Linked DNA regions of Homo sapiens: all the other regions are linked to region 3. The links are contacts of gene promoters, found by promoter capture Hi-C in human tissues and cell types (Jung and others, 2019). All regions are on one chromosome and are shown on one strand. The core of a region is centred on a gene start or on the middle of the fragment in contact, and the rest is flanking DNA. Distances in the headings are between cores, read along the strand shown.

The links. Contacts are between HindIII fragments. The study calls those that stand out against the background at their distance.
Region 1: a contact is called between a fragment that was not itself captured here and the fragment with the promoter of ANKRD11 in region 3, in 1 of the 25 tissues and cell types used here (lymphoblastoid cells).
Region 2: a contact is called between a fragment that was not itself captured here and the fragment with the promoter of ANKRD11 in region 3, in 6 of the 25 tissues and cell types used here (H1 embryonic stem cells, IMR-90 fibroblasts, dorsolateral prefrontal cortex and 3 more).

Annotation. Positions count from the first base shown.
Region 1 is chr16:89,688,570-89,692,156 of GRCh38, reverse strand. CDK10 (cyclin dependent kinase 10) reads right to left here. Exons shown (of 13, transcript NM_052988.5): 2 at 2,833-2,905; 3 at 1,533-1,604; 4 at 612-714; 5 at 270-351. Among named protein-coding and RNA genes, the nearest start is that of LINC02166, 3.5 kb to the right of the region's middle. The HindIII fragment of the contact is 5,257 bases long and covers 1-3,587 here.
Region 2 is chr16:89,349,746-89,354,475 of GRCh38, reverse strand. All of the region lies in intron 2 of ANKRD11 (ankyrin repeat domain containing 11), which reads left to right. The region is part of intron 1 of LOC128462377; the gene reads left to right. Among named protein-coding and RNA genes, the nearest start is that of ZNF778, 130 kb to the right of the region's middle. The HindIII fragment of the contact is 8,829 bases long and covers 1-4,730 here.
Region 3 is chr16:89,488,895-89,493,927 of GRCh38, reverse strand. It overlaps ANKRD11 (ankyrin repeat domain containing 11), which reads left to right and starts at 3,367. Exons shown (of 13, transcript NM_013275.6): 1 at 3,367-3,683. It overlaps LOC101930112 (a long non-coding RNA gene), which reads right to left and starts at 2,958. Exons shown (of 2, transcript XR_933895.4): 1 at 2,542-2,958. LOC101927863 (a long non-coding RNA gene) reads left to right here. Exons shown (of 5, transcript NR_188547.1): 5 at 1,295-1,525. RefSeq lists silencers at 2,648-2,697, 2,818-2,907, 3,108-3,587, 4,162-4,211, 4,292-4,401 and 1 more and enhancers at 3,793-4,307, 4,308-4,821. The HindIII fragment of the contact is 15,043 bases long and covers 1-5,033 here.

The DNA.
Region 1 (3,587 bases), core at 1,078-3,577, 200 kb before region 3:
CTCAGAAGGCTCTCAGCCCCGGGGCTGCCTGCTCCCAACAGCCCAGGAAACCAGTGCCCTCATAAGGCTCTCGGCCCTGGGGCTGCCCGCTCCCAGCAGATGCCCCCACCACAGGAATTCCACCTCACTGAAGCTCGCTGAAACACTGGGAGGTGGAGGCAGAGGCAGCAGCAGCTCTTCAAGTCCCCAAGTGCCCTGTTTCGTTATAAATGTGCACCACAAGGGCCCATGAAGCCCATTCCCCCACCCCAGGCCCCTCTGCCACGCACCTGAGCCTCCGAGAAGGGTGTTGGCATATTCTCCAGGAGGCTGGCCAGGTCCTGCTCACAGTAACCCATCACCAGGAAGATGCTGGAAGAAACAGAAGATGCATGCCACTCTCCGGCCTTCTCCTAAGGGGTGGAAGTGGAGCCTCCCCTGCTGCAGGAGGGGACATGGGCAGGACAACCTGTGTCCCCCTCAGACAATGGGCTGAGCCAGGCGGTGAGGTGGGGTCATCTCTTCTCTGACAACCTCATGCCCAGTGACACTCAGTCCTCGCTCTGTGCAACACCTCTAGCCCAAGACACATGCTCCCTAGGGCCCAATGTGCAGACCAGGAGACCACGTACCTCTCCAGGTGGTTCCCCACAACCACCTCCTTCAGCTCCACGATGTTCGGATGACGCAGGCGGAGCAGCAGCGTGATCTCCCGCAAGCTGCTGATGGGGATGCCTGGGGAGGGAGGTGGCCTCAGCGAGCCCCACCCCAGTGATGGCGGGGAAGCCCCAACCCCAGCCACTCTTGGGCTTCACGAACACCTGATAGCAGGTGCTGCAGTGTCCCCACCTCAGGGAGAATTGGGGCGACCCCAATAAGCATTTTTTTTTTTTTGAGACGGAGTTTCGCTCGTTGCCCAGGCTGGAGTGCAATGGCACCATCTCGGCTCACCGCAACCTCTGCCTCCCGGGTTCAAGCAATTCTCCTGCCTCAGCCTCCCTAGTAGCTGGGATTACAGGCATGTGCCACCACGCCTGGCTAATTTTGTATTTTTAGTAGAGATGGGGTTTCTCCATGTTGGTCAGGCTGGTCTTGAACTGCCGACCTCAGGTGATCCGCCTGCCTCGGCCTCCCAAAGTGCTGGGATTACAGGCATGAGCCACCATGCCCGGCCCAATAAGCACTTTTAACTCTTCCTTGACCAAATACGAATCGGCACCTCTCTAAACACCGTGGACATCTATGTGGGGCATGGCAGGGCCCTGCCTGCACAGGCAGGTGCTGGGGGTGGAGGGGACAGCAGAGCTGAGCCTGCAGTGAGGTGGCCTCACCAGACAGGAGGGGGAGGAGGGGATGGAGACTGCAGAGCCCTCCTGGCAGACAGCTGAGGCTGCGTGTGGACCTGGGGGTGATGTGCTGGGCCACACCAGAACCCTCCCAGAGGCCGGCCCCCGCTACAAGCACCGTGCAGTCGCTCTGAGGAAACTTCAGGTAACTCACATCCTTCTGCCTCCTCCCAGTGCGAGGTCCCAACACCCCAATTTCCTGCTCACCATCCTTCTCCTTGTCCATCCGCACCTTCTTCAGTGCGACAATCTCATCTGTCTGGGTGTCCCGGGCCCGATCTGGAATGGAAACACATTGGTGATGACATCATCTCGATGCCCCTCGTGGGCTCCCTAGCGCTGAACGGGAGGCTCTCCCTGAGCCACAGGGGTCCCCGTTCTTTCCTCTGACAACCTCATGCCCAGTGACACTCAGTCCCCACTCTGTGCAACGCCCCTAGCCCGAGACGCGTTCCCCCGGAGGGTTTCCTCATTTGAACTGGGCAGGGGGTGCCCAACTTTGCTCTGTGCTGGACCCTGGCCTCCAGCCACTCAGTTCTGTGGCTCCAGGCTCTCCATGTCCTCCTTAGCATGCAGATCACTGCTTTGTGCTCTCTTGTAATGTCCTAAAAGCAAATAAGGTACTCTATGCAGAAAAAAGCAAACCTTATTTTGTGTGAAGATGGCTCTACAAAACATCCTGCTAATGTGTGCAGCTTCCAGAATGACCTACGCCAATTTCACATCTGTTATAACCTTTAGTTGTGTGTGGTGTTTTTGGTTTTTTTGAGACAGGGTCTCACTCTGTTGCCAAGGCTGGGGTGCAGTGGCGTGATCACAGCTCACTGCAGCCTCAAACTCCTAGGCTTGGCCGGGTGCAGTGGCTCACACCTGTAATCCCAGTGCTTTGGGAGGCCGAGGCAGGAGGATCATTTGAGCCCAGAAGTTCAAGACCAGCCTGGGCAACATAGGGAGATCCCATCTCTACCAAAAATTTAAAAATTAGCTGGGTGTGCTTATGTACTCTTGTGGTCCCAGATACTCAGGAGGCTGAGGTGGGAGGATCACTTGAGCCTAGGAGGTCGAGGCCGCAGTGAGCTATGATCATGCCACTGCACTCCAGTCTGGGCAATAGAGCAAGACCCATCTCAAAAACAAACAAAAAGAAAAAACACCTGGGCTCAGGTGACTCCTCCAGAGTTGCTGAGGTGATAGACATGAGCACCATGTCCAGCTCCTGCTGCTTCTGGAAAGTTCTGTATTTTATTTCTCTAACAGTTCTGTGTACTCTGCAGTGACACGTTTGGATTATGGGCATTAGCAACCGGATGCTTACGTTTACCCAGAAATGGTACAATGTTTGTGATAACTACATCAGGAATTGAAGTTCCTGAACAGGTTTCTGCCCTGTTTCAGAGCACAGGGTCTGAGTCCCTTCCAGCCCCAACGCGGCTGCTGCTTCGACAGTCTCGTCCCACACTGTCACAGCCACGAGCTGCGGCCACATGTCCTAGCCTTGGCCACTCACACACAATGCCGTAGGTACCCTCTCCAATGCGGTTCAGCTTCTCAAACTCCTTCACACTCCGGCATCGTCCCAGCTGAAACAGAAGGGTGTTGCCAGTGTGGAAATTTGGCAGCTGATGGAACAACTGAGGAAATTTCAAATGGAATTTGTACCAGGGAGCCCACTCACGTCTTGCTCACCAAACAGAAAGGCAACCACACGTTTGGGCTTTTTTTTTCTTTTTTTGAGACTGAGTCTCGCTCTGTTGCCCAGGCTGGAGTGCAGTGGCAAGAACATGGTTCACTGCAACCTCCGCCTCCTGGGTTCAAGTGATTCTCCGGCCTCAGCCTCCTGAGTAGCTGGGATTACAGGCAGGTGCCACCACAACCGCCTAATTTTCTATTTTTAGTAGAGACTGGGTTTCACCATGTTGGCCAGGCTGGTCTTGAGCTCCTGACCTCAAGTGATCTGCCCGCCTTGGCCTCCCAAAGTGCTGGGATTACAAGCGTGAGCCACCGTACCCGGCCTCTTGGGCTTTTCTGATGAGAAAAGGTGGTGACGATACTGGGCCAATGCTTTGAAAGAAATATCAGAGGCGGCCACTCAGATACTCCCTTTCAATCCCACATACAAAAATACATCTGTGGCAGAGGCTGCTGTCCCAGCATCCCTGTATCACTACCTCCTGGAAGTTATGAAACGCTACCCAGTGGCATCTGGCCTTGGAATGTGAGCTGAAGGGACCGTGTGACTTCCAGGTGAAAGGAAGCTTTCAC
Region 2 (4,730 bases), core at 984-3,483, 140 kb after region 3:
TCCACTGGTGCAGGGAGGTGGGCTGGCTCTGCACTGCGCTGGCATAGTGGACCTCACTGCTGCAGTGTTGACTGTGTCAAGCACTTTTTATATTTGGGTATTTGTCTAATGTTAGTAAAATCATTTTTGAGACTTCAAAAAAGATTGACAGTGAGAAGGAAAAGGAGGCTTTTCAAATTCTAGGGTGAGATACAGTGTTTCAACATGAAGTTTTCTTTTTTTTTTTTTTTTTGGCTGAATGCAAAATTTAGTTATATATATGTAAAATTTGTGAAAATGCGTGCCTTGGAAGATTTGAATGGGTAAAGGTATACTTTCCTCCATCTGTGCAGTGCATTATTTAGAAGCAGTGGAGTGACCTTGCAGGCGGCACCTGAGGGAGTGCCAGGCATGGGACTGTTGGGCGGGCAGCTCCCGAGAGCCCTGCAGGGCTGGGTGCTCTGGCTCCCATCAATTATTTACAGACTTGGGGCATTCAGCTGGGCTGGTTCACAAGGCTGGAAGCCAGCTCCGCCTTTATGTCTCCATCTCTGCCCGCCGCCCCTCACCCTGTGGCAGACATGCCCCACGCTCCCTGCATGAGAGGCTGCAGAGGCTGCTCTGTCTTGTTTCGGGTGTCTCAGGGCTGATGTGTGTTGTGTTCCCATAGTGGCTGTTGATCATGAAAAACATTATGTTCCATAAGATATGTGACCAGTTCGGGCGTAGTGGCTCACGCCTGTAATCCCAGCACTTTGGGAGGCCCAGGCAGGCGGATCAGCTGAGGTCAGGAGTTCGAAACCAGCCTGGCCAACATGATGAAACCCTGTCTCTACTAAAAATACAAAGAAATTAGGCAAGCGTGGTTGTGCATGCCTGTAATCCCAGCTACTAGGGAGGCTGAGGCAGGAGAATTGCTTGAACCCGGAAGGCGGAGGTTGCAGTGAGCCGAGATTGCACCACTGTACTCCAGCCTGGGTGACACAGTAAGACTCTGTCTCAAAAAAATGAAAAAGTGACCAGTTCCTTGTAGTTGCCTTGGACTGGTGTTCCTCTTACTGCTGGTATTTCCAGCTCTACTTTTGAGATCCTCTGGAGAAATAAATAGAAACTTTGTTTACTTTCTCTCTCTCTCTCTCTCTCTCTTTTTTTTTGGAGTTGGAGTCTCACTCTGTCACCCAGGCTGGAGTGCAGTGGCGCCATCTTGGCTCACTGCAACCTCCGCCTCCTGAGTTGAAGCAATTCTCCTGCCTCAGCCTCCTGAGTAGCTGGGATTATAGGCGTCTGCCACCATGCACGGCTAATTTTTGTATTTTTAGTAGAGACGGGGTTTCACCATATTGGCCAGGCTGGTCTTGAACTCCTGACCTCATGATCCACCTGCCTTGGCCTCCCAAAGTGCTGGGATTAATTACAGGCGTGAGCCACCGCGCCCAGCCCTACTTTCTCTTGTTATAATTTTAACTCAGTGTTAGGGTGAAGTAAATGGATCCTGTAAAGTTAATATATTCAAGGTTTAATGTTTTCCATAAACTTTTCTGAAGTATGTTTGTTTTAAAATAATTTTGTTGTAGTGACCCCCTTTGCTTAAACATGCCGTGAAGTAGAACAAGCCGTGAGAGAAAAGAGGGAAAGGACAAGATGCTGACAAAGCAGGTAGGGGCCCTGCTTGGGGGCCCATGTGGTCATCTTGAAGGAGGGCAGCAGCACATAGGAAACGCACTCAAGAATCTGCCTGGCTGAGCACACACATTTTCAGAGGCAAGCGGGACTCACCCAGCTGAGGCTTCAATAAACTGGTGAATTGGGTGGAGAAGGGCCAGGCACAGAACACTTTGGTGCTGATGAGTGGAGCGGACAGAGCTTTTACCCTTCAAAGATCTACCACAGTGTGTGTGAGATCTGGATGGGCCAGGGCGAGAGGAAGTGGCCCTGACAGGGGCCTCACTCTTGGGGGCAGGGCTCGCTCACTGTGTTGAGCTTGCCAGAAGCTCTGAAGGGTGTGAGCCTTGAAGATCTGCCCTGACATTCCTCTGTGCCCAGCATCAGCAAGTGCCCTCCTGCCACTGACCTGAGAGCAGGAGGGCGTCACTGTGGCCTTCTGCTTGGTTTTCTTGGGGGGCTGCCTTGAGACATTGCGGTGCCTAGACCCCTGGCTTCTTGACTTGCCTTCCCCCAGGGCTCTGCACCGCGTGGCGTGATGCATACCTGGCCACTGTGAGATCCAGTCCTTAGGACAAGTCTTGTCTCGTGTCCAGCATTCCATCCCTAGGGAAACGTGTCTCATGCTTTTCAAAGAAGATAATCGGCCAGGTGCAATGGCTCACGCCTGTGATCCCAGCATTTGGGAGGCTGAGGCAGGCGGATCACTTGAGGTCAGGAGTTTGAGACCAATCTGACCAACATGTTGAAACCCCCGCCTCTACACAAATTACCTGGGCCTGGTGGCTTGTGCCTGTCATTTCAGCGGAGGCGTGAGAATTGCTTGAACCTGGGAGGCAGAGATTGCAGTGAGCCACGATCGCACCACTGCACTCCATCCTGGGCGACAGAGTGAGACTGTCTCCAAAAAAGAGATAATACCAGCTTGATTGAGAGGATTGACAGACCGTAGGCTTACCCAGATAAAGCGCACAGTTCAAAGGTTGTTAGTGTATTCACGGGTCTGTTCAACCACCAGGACTGTCAGTTCTAGAACATTGCTGTCACCTCAGAAAGAAACTTGGACCTTTAATCGTCACTCCTTGTTCCCCCTGCAGCCTCTGCGTCCTCTCTGAGTCTGCTGTTCTGGTCATTTTGTGTCCATGGAATTGCATGCTGTGTGGCATGACACGAACCTGCGCCCAGGTCACAGGGCCTATGTCTGCAGTGCCCACAGCAGCATTGCCTCAATGCCAAACACAGAGAGAAGCTTCGTCTCCATGCCTTAACTTACAGACCTGCCCGAGAGTCTGTATCCAGTGTTTTCTTGAAAAAGTTCGCTAGGATCCTCTTTGAATACGTATATTTATGAAATGAGAATCAGTTATTTGGTGTAGTGGGTAATGAATGCCTGGAGTGATTTGCGGAGGTAGTGGAGGGTGTGTGGTGAAGTCAGCCACCTGCTCAGTATCAAGGACAGCCTCATCCTGCTCCTGTTGGGATCTGGTCTTCCTTCCCTAGGGCCATGGATGCCATCCCCTTCAGGAATGTATTCTGCTTTTCCAGATGTGTTTGGCGGCCTGTGGGCGTGGGGTGATGGGCATTCAATTTCATTCTTTGCCGTGGAACCCCTCGCCCATGCCCACCACCAGCTGCCGCCGCCGCCTCTCTGCTTTTCTTCACAACAGTGCTCTTGACGAGCTCTTGTGCCCGCCATCGTCCACTCCCGTGCATTCTCTCTGAGAGCTTCTTTGAGGTACAGTTTAAATACTTTGGAATGCATCAATTTTAATAGCGGTCGGGGGATGCATCCTGAGAAATGCGTTGTTAGGTGATCTTGTCCTCTGAGCATCACAGAGTGTGCGTACCCAGATCCAGAAGGCAGAGCCTCCCACACACCTAAGCTACATGGTAGAGCCTGTTGCTGAGTCACCCTGCTGAATCGTGGAAAGAAATCGTAACACAGTGGTAGGTGTTTATGCCATGGGACCCGTTCCACTCCATTAGCATCTTATGGTAGCACATACCACCATCATGAATGTGGCCTGTTGACCACACTCAACATGAGCATCATGTTGCTCATGACTACAGATGTGAGAGTTTTAAGGAATCAGTTGGAACTGTCTTGTTCCCACCATCACAGTCATGATACAGAGTAGTATTTCCATCACCCCAAGAAAGTTCCCCCTTTCCTCTTTGCAGCAGCATGTCATCCTATTTCCTGGACCCAGGATGCTGATGTGCTTTCGGTCACTGTAGCTTTTGCTTTACTAGAATTTAATATGAATGGAATCATTGAGTGTGGACTCTTGTGTCTGGTGTGTTTCATCTTCCTTTTGAGATTGATCTGGGTTCTGTGGTGTATGTCAGTAGTTTACTGAGTAGCTTTTTAGGGGGTAGATATGTCGCATGTTCATCCAATAAGCAGTTATAGACATGTCCGTTGTTTCCTAGTTTTAGCTGTTGGGAGTCAAGCTGATATGAGTAGTTGCATGCAAAGCATCAGATGGCTGGATGTGGTACCTTTTCTGGGTCTGGGTTTCTCGGTCACATGTTACATGAATGTTTAACTTGTTAAGAACCTGCCAGACTCTTTTCCAAAGTGACCACTCAGTTTTGTGTTCCCACCAGCGTTGAATGGGAATTCCATCTGCTCTGTCCTTGCCGTTACATGGTGTAGTCCATCTTTTCCATTTTAGCCATTCTAGTGAATTGCGGTTTTAATTTCCAGTGCCCTAGTGACAAATGATGTTGCTTGTCTTTTCATGTGGCTTTTTTGGTGGGGGGAAGGGACTATCCATGTATTTGCTTTGGTGAAGCATGTGTCTTCACTTTCATATCTGCCATTTGCTCATTTCTAAAAATCGGGTTGTCTGCTGATTTTTGAGAGTTCTTTATGGATTCTAGACACAGGTCCTTTACCAGCTATTTGTTGTTTGAATATGTGTGTGTGTGTGTGTGTGTGTGTGTGTGTGTGTGTGTGTGTGTGTGTGTTTTAACAAGTATTTGGCCTGTATTTTTATTTCTTAATAGTGTCTTTAGAGCAGCTAAAGTTTTTAGTTTGATGAAGTCCAACTTCATAGTTTTGTCTTGGGTACTTTGTGCTTTTT
Region 3 (5,033 bases), core at 2,118-4,617:
TCCTTCATGCTGTTTCCAGGCTGATGTTGTAAAATAGGAATCTGATCTTCAGGCCTCGCGTTGGAAACCTTCACTGGTGCCCTGCTGCTATTAGGCCAAGGAGCACTGCTGCACCCCGATGGCCTCCCTGCTCCTGCTTCCGTCTGGCTGTGTCTCCGGTTTCTGTTGCTGCGCCCCTCATGTCCTGTACCCATCACCCACGCAGGAGGTGCAAAGAACATCTCAGACTTTAAGTGCACAAAACTAAACTCTTTTTTCACCCAAACCGGCATCTTCCTTAAAGCTCTCTTCCAGACAATGCTAACCTCACCCTGGACCCTTCTTTTACAGCCCACAAAACCTTGCCGACTGTCTTCAGTCCAACCGTGGCTCTCTACTCCATCTGCACTGCTGTCTCTGTGCGTTCATCATCTCACAGCCATCCTTTCATGCAAGTTGGACCATCGCCCACCTTCCCACAACCCTCTGACGGCTTACCTTTTTCCTCAGGATAAAATCCCAACTCCTTTTTTTTTTTGAGATGGAGTCTCGCTCTGTTGCCCAGGCTGGAGTGCAATGGCGTGATCTCGGCTCACTGCAGCCTCTGCCTCCCGGATTCAAGTGATTCTCCTGCCTCAGCCTCCGGAGTAGCTGGGATTACAGGCGCACGCCACCACGCCCGGCTAATTTTTGTATTTTTAGTAGAGACGGGGTTTCACCATGTTGGCCAGGCTGGTCTCAAACTCCTGACCTCAAGTGATCTGCCTGCCTTGGCCTCCCAAAGTGCTGGGATTACAGGCGTGAGCCACTGCACCTCACCTCAAAGATTTTCTCTTTTTCTTGAGACGAAGTCTCATTCTGTCGCCCAGGCTGGAGCGCAGTGGCGCGATCTCGGCTCACTGCAACCTCCGCCTCCCGAGTTCAAGAGATTCTCCTGCCTCAGCCTCCTGAGCAGCTGGGACTACAGGCACCCGCCACCACCACACCCAGCTAATTTTTGCATATTTTTAGTAGAGATGGGGTTTCACCATATTGGCCAGACTGGTCTCGAACTCCTGATCTCATGATTCACCCGCCTCGGCCTCCCAAAGTGCTGGGATTACAGGCATAAGACACCGCGCCTGGCCAAGATTTTCTAATTAGTGCATTTCCTGGCTCCTTTCCCTTTACTCTGCATTTCTTTTCTCTACCATACACGTTCTACTTCTGTCGAAATTCAGTTTGCTTTTACCTTAGTGTATTTTCAGATTCTGTTTCGAAGGCCAACTGCCTGCTTACTCATATTAATATTTTGCACTTTAAATTCCCCTGATAGATGAGCATGGTGGTGCAGGCCTGTAATCTCAGCTCCTCAGGCGGGAGGATCACTTGATCCCCGGAAGTTTGAAGCTGGACTGCGCTGACCGCACCTGTGAATACCACTGCCCGTCAATCAGCCTAGGGGAAACATTCTCGAGTGCGAGCATGACGGCTTAGGTTGATGTTTTTCAAATTTTCCCAATGATGAGTATTGTAAGGGACCAAAATAAAAAAATGCCAATGCCTAGTCCCCTCTCATCTAGAATAATTCCATAGGTGATGATGGGGTCCAGGACTCTGAATTTCGTCAATTTTACCAAATACTTCGTCCAGTGAGGCAAATATGGAAACACTTGGATCACCTCTTCGTGAACGCACATCAGCGCATACGCCGGCTGTTTTTATCAGGCGCTCACCCCTCATCCAATGGCGTGACTAGTTGTGGGTGGAGCCCGAAATCTGGCTGCCTAGAGAAGGCTGAAGGTCCAGTTATAGCATAACTAATGTTTCCCCAGAGCTCACATACGTGCCAAGCACCGTGCTACAGCCTCCACAGCCCCTTCATTTAATCTTCCCGATGGGCCTATGAAATAGGTGCTCCTGGCCCGCACCGTGGCTCATGCCTCTAATCCCAGCACTTTGGGAAGCTGAGGAGGGAGGGTCGCTTGAGTCCAGGATTTCAAGACCAGCCTGGGAAACACACAGAGAGCCTATCTCTACGAAAATTTAAAAAATTAGCCGGGTGTGGTGATGCCTGACTGTGGTCCCACCTACTTAGTAGGCTAAGGTGGGAGGATCCTCTGAGCCCGGGAAGCTGAGGCTGCAGTTAGCACTGCACTCCAGCATGGGCGACAGAGTGAGACCCTGACTCAAAAAAAAAAAAAAAAAAGAATAGGTGCTACTTGTAGTTCCCATTTTACCCACCAAGAAACTGAAGATCTGAGAGACAAAGCCTACAGGGTGACCGCTAGTCACTGGTAGGGCTGGGATTTGAACAGGGGCGGTTTAACAACTGATCTCTCGACCATAATGCGTGTTGCCCAAGAAAAAAGACCGTCCTCACGGTCCTATCCACTCCGGACTTTGCAATTCCGTTATTTCGTAAATTGAGGCCTATAAATAGTTTGCTTACCCGTTGTCTTAGTCCCCAGTAACATGCAGAACTAAAGAAGAAACTGAAGGAGCACCGATTTTGTTCACCTTGCTTTTTGGTTTAGTTCTGGAGGAGAACACAGGTGCACTTAGAACAGGATCCACACTTACCAGAGGCTTGATTCATTTTAGCTGCAAAGAAAACCAGTCCTCGTCTACCTTTTTCGCGTGTTGGAGAACTAACTAGCAAGGCAGGGAATGCGGTTCGTGGGCGCTTGGCCTCCTCAAGCGGCTCAGGCTCTCAGAGCGCGAGGCCCAGGGGCTCTGGAGCCGCGGCCGCGACGCGCCCGAGGGCCGTTCTCTTCGACGGCAGAGCAAGAGTCACCGCGCGGGAGCCCCGAGCGACCGCCCCGCTGCCCCGGTACCCTCCCCTCGCAGCCGCCCAGAGCTCTTCATGCCCCGTGACGCCCGTTAGGGCAGCGCGGCCGGAGGCCGGGCCGGACGTGGCCCGAGATGTCCGGGGGCAGGCAGAAGACCACGGGCACGCGACAGGCAACCGCCGCCTCGGCTCTAGAGGTGGACGTTTTGTCTCCCTGCGCTTCAATACCAGATTTTGTTTCCAGACGACATCCCTGTTGCTTCCGGCACTTGGAAAGACCAATCGTCAGGCCCGAGAATGCAAGACCCACCCTCCTTTGCGACGGAGGCAGCCAATCCAGTTGCTCGCTACTTCCAGTGTCGCATGCGCCCTTACGCAGGACCCTGCCCAATCGTTACCGGGACGTCCTCCTAGTCCCGCCTCCGGACCGCCAGAGAGGCTGTCAATCCCGCCTCTCTCCTTCACTCCATTAGCGCACTAACTCACGGCGCTGTGACGTGCACAGCCCCTGCGGCCGGCCGGGGCGGGCCAATGGCGGTGGCGGATACGGCGGGCCAATGGGCGGGAGCGTCTCATGCGGCCGGCTCCCGCCGCAGCCGCCGCTGGGTCCTGGAGCCAGAGGCCGCCCTGAGACGGTGCGCGATGGACCGAGGGCCCCAGCCGGGGAGGCGCCGCCGCCGAGCCCGCGGCCAGACGCCCCATCAGTAGCGTCCGCACCGGGAGCCGCGGCTCTCGCCCGAGCCGTGGGCGCGCCCGAGGGGCGGGCTCGCCTCCCGCCGTCCCTCGCAGCTCTGCCGGGCCCGAGCCCGCGCCGCCGCCGCCGCCGCCTTGCCGCTCGGGCCGCGCGGCCCGGGAAACGCGGCCGCGGGCTGCATGGGCAGCGCCCGCGCCCCGCCGCTGAGCCGTCGCGGAGCCGCGCAGCCCTCGGAGCACGGTGAGAGGCGCCGCTGGTCTGGGGGCGGTGGTCGGGGCGGGCACGGGGCATTCGCGCGGCCTTGCGGCCTGCAGGCCTTCCCCGGCGACGGAGCTGCGCCGCGGGCCTCCGGGCGGGCCTGGGGGGTCGGGGCCGGGTGGGCGGGGGTCTTTGGGGGCCCGGGGCGATCGTGAGGGACCAATAATGGGTCCCGGAGCGGGCCTACGGGTCCGGGTTCGGGGCAGCCGGGGGTCTTTGGGGGCCCGGGGTGGCCGTGAGGGGCCCATAGGGGGCTCCGGGGGGGGCCTGGGAGGTCGGCGGAGCTTGGGTCGGCCGTAAGGGGCGGACGGGGGCTCCGGGCGGGCCTGGGTGGCCGGGGGCCCGCGGCGGCTCTGAGGGGCCGATTGGGGGCTCCGGGGCGGGCCTGGGGGCCGTGGGGGCCCGGGGCGGCCGTGAGAGGCGGACAGGGGGCTCCGGGGCGGGCCTCGGGGGCTCGGAGCGGCCGTGAGGGGCGGACGGGGGGCTTCGGGGCGGGCCTGCAGGTCTTGGGGACCTGAGGCTGCCGGGAGGGGCTGCCAGGGGGCGCTGGCCGGGCGCCGGGTTCTGCGGAGCTGGGGCGCCGACCTCTGACCCGCGAGAGGGGCGCCTTCGCCGTGCTGGTCGTAGTTGTTATTCTCAGCGTCCCTATTATTATCGCTGTTTTGAAATGAGAGCAGGCGGCTCTCGGGCTCCGAGCCGGAGGGGGAGGGCGAACTGGGGACCTGGGGGCGTCGGGGTTGCAGGAGGCGCGCGTAGGCCGAGGAGGGGCAGGAATGCGGGCAGCCGTGTGGGGGGTGTTAGGGGGAGGGTAGGCGGGCGGGTGTGGGGGGTGGCTGGGAGGAAAGCGGTGGCGGTGGCGGCTGCAACAGCAGCCCTTGGCCTCAAGGAACAATGTGAGACGTTGCCTGAAATGTTAATTTCCGTTCCTCATTTCATCATCCCCTGGCAGGGCGGTAGCTGTGTGTGTGGTGTATGTGTGTGCGCGCGCGCGCGCGCGCGCGTGTGTGTGTGTGTGTAGGGTTGGCCCTGCCACATTGATTCAGTCCCCTCTCAAAGAGGGATTGTACTGTTAACTCTTGTGTTTGTGTTATTTGGGAAGGTTGGTCGGGGGGAGTCTTGATTTTTCTCGAGGCTTGCTCTTTTCCTGGTGCCCCATTAAGATTTTCTGCTTCTGTTGTGTTTTTGGAAGGTTAGTGTTATATATCAGCTTCCAAGAAGTTTTGGAAGAGGCTTGGGAAGATGAAGCTGGTCTAACAGCTCCCTATGCTTTGAAACTGTTTTCCTTCTATGTAACATGCTTAGGATTCATCGTTTTTGTAGATTATGAGTAGT